Linked DNA regions of Homo sapiens: region 2 is linked to region 1. The links are contacts of gene promoters, found by promoter capture Hi-C in human tissues and cell types (Jung and others, 2019). All regions are on one chromosome and are shown on one strand. Each heading gives the region's core, a stretch centred on a gene start or on the middle of the fragment in contact. The rest is flanking DNA. Distances are from core to core; before and after follow the strand shown. Region 1 holds the start of BMP7 (bone morphogenetic protein 7). Region 2 overlaps TFAP2C (transcription factor AP-2 gamma).

The links. Contacts are between HindIII fragments. The study calls those that stand out against the background at their distance.
Region 2: a fragment that was not itself captured here is called in contact with the fragment with the promoter of BMP7 in region 1 in 1 of the 25 tissues and cell types used here (aorta).

Annotation. Positions count from the first base shown.
Region 1 is chr20:57,264,096-57,268,632 of GRCh38, forward strand. It overlaps BMP7 (bone morphogenetic protein 7), which reads right to left and starts at 2,546. Exons shown (of 7, transcript NM_001719.3): 1 at 1,610-2,546. The coding sequence starts at 2,027. LOC112268270 (translation initiation factor IF-2-like) reads left to right here and starts at 2,345. Exons shown (of 2, transcript NR_171651.1): 1 at 2,345-2,547; 2 at 2,688-3,192. RefSeq lists an enhancer at 210-925, a promoter at 2,034-4,537 and a cis regulatory region at 2,653-2,745. The HindIII fragment of the contact is 13,311 bases long and covers 1-4,537 here.
Region 2 is chr20:56,637,080-56,642,000 of GRCh38, forward strand. TFAP2C (transcription factor AP-2 gamma) reads left to right here. Exons shown (of 7, transcript NM_003222.4): 7 at 649-2,204. The coding sequence ends at 934. Among named protein-coding and RNA genes, the nearest start is that of TFAP2C, 10 kb to the left of the region's middle. RefSeq lists an enhancer at 1-479. The HindIII fragment of the contact is 7,963 bases long and covers 1-4,921 here.

The sequences.
Region 1 (4,537 bases), core at 1,296-3,795:
AGGTATTTTGGCATCTAAACCTCCCACCCCTTGCTCGCTGAAGCTTGGTTCACTAGTTGGATTTAGTTATTATTAAGTACAGACAATGGCCTCCCGGGAACTCCAGGGACCTTATCAGGAGGGGGAAGCATGAAGGCGGATCTGCGCTTCCCCCGCGCCCCCAGTCCACGCCCCAGGTGCCCAGCGTGGGGCTTCAGTATCATTATTTCCATGTTGACACAGCGCCCGTGGGCGTGAGTTTGCTGTCTTGACTTGGTTCGGGTTTTCGCAGCAAGTTACACAAGTAGAATGAAAGCGGCTCAGGAAACAGCGCTATCGGGGTGTGTTATCTCGGAAACCAAATATTTGATCATCAGTCCCGCAGCGCGCTGGCGCTGCCGGGGGGTTAGTTTGAGCAAGTCTGGAGAATGTGCGCGCACATATGGAGGGGGAGCTCCCCGGCCCTCGCTGCAGCCCCAGGCTCGCGTCGCCGGGGTCGTCGCGGCTCCAGTCGGAAACCGGGACCCCCAGCCGCCCCCGCGGCGTCAGCTCTGAGATCCCGCGCAACCCAATCGCCAAAACCTGTGGTTTGCGCGCCACACGTGGTAAATGCTGAAAATAGATTCTGCCGGCCCGGGACCTACCACTAAATACTTAAAATAGAAGACTAGCGGCAGGGCACAGTGGCTCACGCCTGTAATCCCAGCACCACTTTGGGAGGCTGAGGCGGGAGGATCACCTGAGATCGGGAGTTCGAGACCAGCCTGCCTAACATGGAGAAACCCTGTCTCTACTAAAAATACAAAATTAGCCAGGCATGGTGGCGCATGCCTGTAATCCCAGCTACTCGGGAGGCTGAGGCACGAGAATCGCTTGAACCCGGGAGGCAGAGGTTGCGGTGAGCAGAGATCGCGCCATTGCACTCCAGACTGGGCGACAAGAGTGAAACTCCGTCTCAAAAAAAAAAAAAAAGAAAAGAAAAGAAAAAAAAAGAAAAAAGAAAAAAATAAACAAAGAAAGAAAACAAAGAAAATTAGCAATGGCACCGTTTCTTCCCCAGCTCCAGCCAAGAGAGAATGGGGCATCCGGCGGCCCGGAGAGGGGCCCCAAGGCGCTCGGAGCGCGCGGTACGCTAAGGCGGGCGCACCACGAGGGGACAGGTAGGGCTTGACAGGGAGGGTAAGGGGGTGCGACGGCCGCGATGCCAGAGCCAGGCAGGGCTGAGAGGGGCCCAGGAAGGGCGGCAAGGCAGCCTCGCCGGGAAGGGCCCTTTACATCCAGGTAGCGCGAGCCGCGCCGGCCCGGGACAGCTCACATGACCGAGCCCCGCGCTTTGAACGGCCCTTGCCTCCAGCCCCAGAGATGCGGCCGGCGGCGTAACATGGAGGGGACTTCGGAGGATCCCTCCTTCCCAGTAACCCCTACAGGCTCACCGAACCCAGCGCGCCCGACCTGGGGGCGCACACAGCTTGGGAGTCATAGGGCTGTGGGTGGGAGACCCTCGGGCAGGCACTGCGATTTCAGCCAGGAGCGGAAAGCTGGGCGGGCTGCATAGAAGAAGCGGCTCCCTCCCTCCCAGTCTCAAAGTGCCCCCGAAAGGAGACGCGTACCCTCGCCTGCCCTTACTCACCGAGGTTGACGAAGCTCATGACCATGTCGGCGTCGGTGAGGAAATGGCTATCTTGCAGGCTGGCCAGAGGGGGGCCCTGGGTACTGAAGACGGCCTTGTAGGGGTAGGAGAAGCCCTGGCCGCCGGGCCCGCCGCCCTCCTCCACCGCCATGGCGTTGTACAGGTCCAGCATGAACATGGGTGCCGAGTTGTGCTTGCCCTGGAGGTGCGGGCGCGGGCGGTGGGGCAAGCCCAAAATGGAGAGGATCTCGCGCTGCATCTCCCGCCGCTCCTGGCTGCGGAGGCGCCGGTGGATGAAGCTCGAGTGCACCTCGTTGTCCAGGCTGAAGTCGGCCAGGGCGGAGCGCAGCAGGAACAGGGGTGCCCAGAGCGCCACGAAGCTGTGCGGCGCCGCAGCTCGCAGTGAGCGCACGTGCATCGCGCCGGCTCTACGCGCTACCCGGGCTCCGGGCTCCGGGCCCGCACCGCCCCAGGTGGCAGAGGGGGCAGGCGGCCGTCCGCGCCGCTCGGTCACTTGCTGCAGACGGGCCCCGCTGCGCCCGCGCCAGACATGGCCCCTCCCCGGCCGGCCGCGCTCTGCCCGGACCCCCGCCCCCTGCTCGGTGCTGGCCCCGGGCCCCTCGCCCCGCACTCGCCCGGGCGCACCGCAGGGCTTGGAAAGCAGCCCCGGCGAACGAAAAGGCGAGTGAGGAGGCGGGCGCGGGTGGGAGGAGCAGCCAGCAAGCCTAGGAGTCCAGAGAGCCAACGCCGGGGAGGCAGCGAGGAGGCAGGCGGGCGGGCGAGCGCTCCTTCTTCCCGCTCCTCTGGCGCTCTCGCCCTCGGGCGGCGGCAACCCACCCTCTTCCAACCTCCGGCGCGGATAGCAGGGGCCCCGGGGCGCTCTCCCAGCCTTGTGCGCCCTGGATCGCACAAGAGGCCGCCTCGGGAGCGCCAGAGTGGTACGCGCTGGGGCCTGGGCGGAGGAGGAGGAGGAGGAGGACGGGCTTCGAGGGGCCCCTCCCGCGCCGGCGGCCTCCCACCTGCCCTCGGCCCCGCCCTCCCCCCAGCTGTGCCCAGTGGGTTCATTCATTCCCTCTAGAGCGCTCGACAAATGTTTACTGAGTGCCCACGGGGTGCCTAGAGCCTGGCGGGACGTCGCGGGGATGCGGCTGGAGGAATCGGAGCCGGCCCTGCCCTCTCGGCACTCGCGGTCCGGACCAGGAAGGCGGCCCGAGCAGGACGGGTGGGCTGCGGACCGCGGTGGGAAAAGTTGGGGGAGCGCGGAGGTGGCGCGGAAATAGAAGGCTTCCTGGAAGCGGTGACCCTTGAGCCGGTCTTGCCCCTCAGTCCCTGTATCCTTTTAAGCCAGCCACGCTGACCCCTCCGCGCCTCCCTGAAGCCGTTGCCAGCCTGTCTCTGCGCTCGCCATTCCCTCCGCCTGGACCTCTCCCCACTCACCACCTCCCGCCCCCATCAGACGCTGCTTTCTCCTCCCAGAGACCTCCAAGACCTGCCAAGCTGAGGTTGTTTCCTCGCCTCGCCCCTCGCACGTTTGTTTTCTTTCCTGTAGTTTCTCTTGCTGTCTGGAATTGCTGTTTGAGTTACTCCGTGCCTTCTTTATTGCCTTCTTACCCCCGCTAGACACCCAGAGCACTGGGGCCCGGATCAGCGATCTTCTCCGCACCTCTGGTACCCGCAGTGCCTTGAACCCAGCGCCTGGTAGCCACTGTAGCTGCGCAGTCACGATTTGTTGAGTGAATAAGTGAACTGCGTGTGAGCTGGGGGGGTTCTTCCCACCTCCTCCTCTTCGGGGCCCTGTATCTTTCCAGCCACCCCTCAGCCTGAGACCAGACACCCCAGCCCCACCACTAGGGCTTCCCATCAGCCCTCCTCGTGGCAGTGCCTGGGGAGCCAGCCGCTGGTCTTCACATCCTCTTCCCCTCCAAGGGTCTGTGCCTGAGACCTCCCCATCGGCCTCCTCTCCTGTCTCTCCTCATCCATTCATCCCTCAATCAATACCGAGCCATGCACGCTGTCACAGGGAGTCCCCAGACCACTCAGAACCCACCGGTCCCTCTGCCGGTGTGGGATCTCAAGGGAATTACTGCACCCAGAGTGGCAGTGAGGGCAGCGGGGTAAAAGTTCATCCTGTCTCCTTCCCCTCCTGGGGCTGGGTGAGAGAGTGGGTCCCCAGAGGGCCTTTGGGATGAACTGGGAAGGGCTGAGGTTGGGGAAGCGGGGGCGCTTGTCTGGGAGGGGCTCTGGCTAAGCCTCACTTTGGGGCTGTCCTTCCTGGAGCAGGAGAGCTGGGGAAGAGAATTATGGTCTTCTACAGTTTTCTGGAGCAGAAGTAGTTTGGCCAAGTGGCCCTCTGGGTCTCCCTTGGGGACTTTTGGACTAGATGGCAGCCTGAGGGGCCACATGGGTGGAGAAAGGGGAGGCCAGAGGCCAGGCAAGGAGCAGAAAAATGCCAGCCTGCAGGTCCTGGCCATTTACACACAGGCCCCAGGCTGTGGGATGGAACAGGTCTTGAGCCCCATGCCAGGGAGGGGCCTCTACCCACCCACCAGGCAAGGCCCTCAAACCACCCCCACCACCTGCTCTTCATCCATTCACTCCTTCCTTCAACAGACAAGCATGGAGCACAGGATATCAGGAGGCGAGCTGTGGGGCCTGCAACCTGGACAGTCGTACAGGGCCCCCCAGCTCTTAAGGGCCCCACACTTGGTTTCCTACTCTGAGGTCACCATATGTGGTTCTGAATCACCTATGAACAAAGTACCCCCTGCCCCGTACTAATTTTGCACCTGGCCCAGATATTATGTGGCCAGTCCCAGGGCCAAGCACCATGCTGGGCAGGAAGACATGGCCATGAGCGAACCCACATGGCAGACTCCATCAAGGAGCCGGCCTCCAGGCCAGGGAAGCAAAGCAAGAGCCTTAAATAAG
Region 2 (4,921 bases), core at 1,206-3,705, 630 kb before region 1:
GTAAAGAGAGATTGTGTGCCTTCTACCTCCTGATAGCAAGACTTTTGTCTTTCAAATGTAAAGATCAGGGTGGATTTGTGGGCAAATTAACTGTCTCCAAAACGACTTAATGCAGCTGTGGGTTTTCTCATAGAAACCAACAGTAAGTTGATTTGAAAATGATGGTAAATGAAGCAGAACTAGTCGAGCCAGGAAATGGGGTAAAAGAGAGCGCAGTGAACCAGGCTGTGTCAGGAGTCAGAATTTCAGGGGGATGCTTCCTTCTCCCGGTTCCTCACGGAATTTGTTTATTGGAACCAACTTGTACCAAGGTAAACTGTCCCTTAAGCTCATGGGTTGGAATCCAGGCCCCATTACTTTTACCAGTCCTGGTGACCTTGGCCAGTTAGCTGGGGTTAAGTTAATCCTGTTGTCTTTTCTAATTGCAGTGAGGATTAAATAAGATAGTGCTTTAAAACAGCTTAACTCAGAGCCTGGCGCAGAATAGTTGCTAAGCGCAGCAGTTGGCTATTAGTATTAAATTCTCCTTCCTCGGGTTGAAGCAGTTGTGCTTGCCTCCCGGGCGCCAGCCTCAGTGTAGTTGGTTCTGTGCTCTTGACCTGTAAGGAGCTAGATGGAACTCATCGAGTCAACTGACTGTCTTCACAGGCAACTGTGTAAAGAATTCACAGAACTTCTCAGCCAAGACCGGACACCCCATGGGACCAGCAGGCTCGCCCCAGTCTTGGAGACGAACATACAGAACTGCTTGTCTCATTTCAGCCTGATTACCCACGGGTTTGGCAGCCAGGCCATCTGTGCCGCGGTGTCTGCCCTGCAGAACTACATCAAAGAAGCCCTGATTGTCATAGACAAATCCTACATGAACCCTGGAGACCAGAGTCCAGCTGATTCTAACAAAACCCTGGAGAAAATGGAGAAACACAGGAAATAAAATTGGAACGAAGAAAGGTTAGGAGAGTAGGGAAGGAACAGGACTGCAAAAATCCTTCTCCACCGCACAGACTGGGAACCCCTCCTGGCCTGGGGGAAGAGTTTGTTACCTACCTTACTATTTAAAGAGCCTTCACTGGTTCTGCATCACCCGCCCCTGGACTTCTTAGTTGTTTCTCTAGCGCTGAGCTATCTCCTAACTTTGGACCTATTATCAGAAGGTGACAAGTACTGGCTCTTTATTCATTAAGCTTTTTTTTTTTGAACCCCATTCTTTCCTTCTCTGAAAGTGGTGCTATAAGTTTTAGAATCTTTTAAATACATTCCCTGGGCCAACAGACCCACACACTTAGCCATTGAAATGTCAAATTGATGTGCCCTAGATCAACAGATCAACAATACCTTTTTTTTCAGTGTTAAGGTAATGGTTGGTTTTTGTGTCCGCTAAATATTTACCTTGAAAAAAAGAAAAGTGTGTATCTAGCTTCTTCAGAGATCAAGTCCTCTGGTAGGAGGCAAAGGTTCTATCTGCTTAGCAACTAGTTAATAAGTGGTATCTGACACACTCTAAACCCCGTGTTCAAACGGGGGCCTTCTGGTTTTAGGAAACTTGTAGAAACGAAGCCTGCTGATTGATTTTTTTCTCCTTTTTTTTTTTTTTTTTTTTTAACTTTGAAAGTTAACTCTTCAAATGGGAGACTCTTTGAAATGACATGTTCCTTTAAGGTACTGAAGCTTTATTTGCATATTTATTTCAGATGTTTCGAGTAAACTTGAAAAGGGTAGGCACGAAGCAATTTGTTGCTGCTTGTCACCCCCAAGTCCCCGTGGAGGTTCTGTATTTTAAGAAACAGTGCGTTGAGTGTACAGATTTTATTTATGCGTAATTTAATGGGGTCTGTAAATACTGGTGCACTTCTTACGACTTTTTTGAGACATGGGATCCAATTTTAATATTAACTTTTAATGGTGATGGGGTAATCTATAACACATCATAAGGTTTTATTCATATATATACAGGGTATTAAGAATTAAGAGGATGCTGGGCTCTGTTCTTGGCTTGGAAGATTCTATTTAATTGAAACTCTCTGTTCAGAAAGCAATAACTTTGTCTCGTTCCTGTTGGGCTGAACCCTAAGGTGAGTGTGCAGTACAGTGTGTGTGGGTGAAATGGAGATTTGGAATTGAACTCTCTGCCTGTAAATGTTCCCCAAATAATTGTTGTGTGTATGATACGTGTATAATAAAAGTATTCTTGTTAGAATCTGAAAGTCTGGCTATAGGTTTTTGTTTTTGCTTTTGTTTTAAAGTCTTTTGGGTGAATGGAATTAGGGCAGAGCTGATTTATGGCTTGACTGTGGCTTGGTTAATGCCCTGAGCAGGCAAGTTTTGTGTGCTGTTGGGGAGGAACCTGAAGTTTCACCTTTTCTCCCTAGCGACACTGTTCAGCTACCCCAGGCCTTATGCTGTCATCAGTGTCTCTCAACTGCAGAGGGATAGAATCATCCTCCCCACCCTGGAGGTGTTGGGAAATGTCTGAGGGACAGTTTATTGACATTAAGAGGGGCCAATGTTTTGGGAACAATGTCTCATGGAAGGTTACTGTATTGAGGACAGGTACACTGGCATACTGTACTCAGCATACTGTATAGTGGTCAAGAATGGAAGTGAAATGATTATGGGTGTTCTTTGGGCAGATGTTTCTCTCTTTTTTTTTTTTTTCTTTTTTTAAGATGAAGTCTCGCTCTTGGCCCCAGGCTGGAGTGCAATGGTGTAATCTCGGCTCACTGCAACCTCCACCTCCCGGGTTCAAGCGATTCTCCTGCCTCAGCCTCCTGAGTAGCTGGGATTACAGGTGCGTACCACCACACCTGGCTAATTTTTGTATTTTAAGTAGAGACAGGGTTTCACCATGTTGGCCAGGCTGGTCTCGAACTCCTGACCTCAGGTGATCTGCTCGACTTGGCCTCCCAAAGTGCTGGGATTACAGGCGTGAGCCACCGCGCCAGGCTGGGCAGGTGTTTCTTAGGAGGACTTGGCATTCAGTCGAATGCAAGCAGTGGACGTGCAGCATGCCAGTGTTTTCCATTCATCTAAGTTCTCTTTGGAAATGAGATCGTGCTCATCCACCCAAGACATCCTCTTCATTTCATCTGCCTGCAGGGGAAACCAGAGATTGAGTCTTTGTGCTACTCCAGGAGCAGAGGAGTCTGGCAGGGGTTATGTACTTGCTGGATGTTTGTGATGCACACGGCAGGTACTTGATCTCGAGTTGAAGCAGCCTGGCATCTCCTCCAGGAAGTGATGTGTTTAGAGTTTGCCATGTGTGGCCTGGCTTCAAAGGGAACTGGGAGCCGTAGGATTTTCCCCATTGGATAAGACCATTGCTTCAATGCCAGTTTTATAATCTTTAATTCATAATTCTCTACCAAATGCCCAACGATTCCTGACTTAATGTTGGCGTTGGATGTTATTAAGTAACTTAAACTCTGCCAACCCAGTGCTTTGCTCTTGGCATCTTGTCCTTGGCCACCAAGCATTCCCATTAAGTTGGATTTATCTGGTTGATATGACAAGATCACAATTGCTTTGCTTTGGAGTGGTGAAAAGAGATCTTAGGTTGGCAGTTATCTCTCAATCAAGGCTTGAAATGTTGAGTGTTAAGAGGAAGTTATGGGGGCAAAGGGCTGAAAGAAAAAGGGCTATTCTGTTATCAGCATCTTAACTTGCTTTTGGACCAGAGTCTGGCTTTTAGGAGCTGTGCTGAATTGCAACGCAGTCAGTGTTCTGGAAACGCCCCAAAGTCAACCAAGGATTGAAGGGAATCACAAGCAGTGCTTCTTTTTTATTTTTTTTTTGAGATGGAGTCTCACTCTGTTGCCCAGGCTGGAGTACAGTGGCTCGATCTCGGCTCACTGCAAGCTCCGCCTCCCGGGTTCATGCCATTCTCCTGCCTCAGCCTCTTGAGTAGCTGGGACTGCAGGCACCCGCCACCACACCCGGCTAATTTTTTTTGTATTTTTAGTGGAGACAGGGTTTCACCCTGTTAGCCAGGATGGTCTTGATCTCCTGACCTCATGATCCACCTGCCTCAGCCTCCCAAAGTGCTGGGATTACAGGCGTGAGCCACCACGCCCGCCCAAGCAGTGCTTCTTACTTGCCGGGTTCTTTCTCCACATCCCCACTGGAAGTCTGGGGACTGCCACTGAGCTCTTGAGTCTGATGCACGATAATGAGTTTTTCTTCCCAACACCTGAGCTGATGCTGTAGCCAAAAACCAGGTCCCCTCAAGAGGATCCTACTGAAACATTAGCTCCCTTGCAGATTTTTTTTTTTTTTTTTTTTTGAGATGGAGTCTCGCTCTGTTGCCCAGGCTGGAGTGCAATGGCATGATCTCAGCTCACTACAAGCTCCGCCTCCTCGGTTCACACCATTCTCCTGCCTCAGCCTCCCGACTAGCTGGGACTACAGTCGCCCGCCACCACGCCCAGCTGATTTTTTTGTATTTTTTAGTAGAGGCGGGGTTTCACCATGTTAGCCAGGATGGTCTCGACCTCCTGACCTCGTGATCCACCTGCCTCGGCCTCCCAAAGTACTGGGATTCCGGGCGTGAGCCACCGCGCCCAGCCCTCCCTTGCAGATTTTTCTGGAAACTCTTGCTTACTTGTGAAATAAGGGTGCAGTGCCCTTTGGCATTAGGTTGGTGGACCCTCGCTTCTCGTGGCCCAGAGTGGGTTTTGTTTCAAGCCCCATGTTAGTGGGAATCACCCTCCCTTTTCCCCTTGCCCTGTGCTGTTGTGGCACACTGGCTGTGGAGGCACATGATATCACTGATGTCTTGGCCCTCTGACAGAAGAAATAAAGATACGCTTCCTTTTTTTCCCTGGTTGCACTGAAAGAAACCCCATCAGTTGTCTGAAGGGTATATACTGCCTAGAATTCCACTTATGTGAGAGAGACTGTCGGCGGGATTGCCCATCTGTTGACT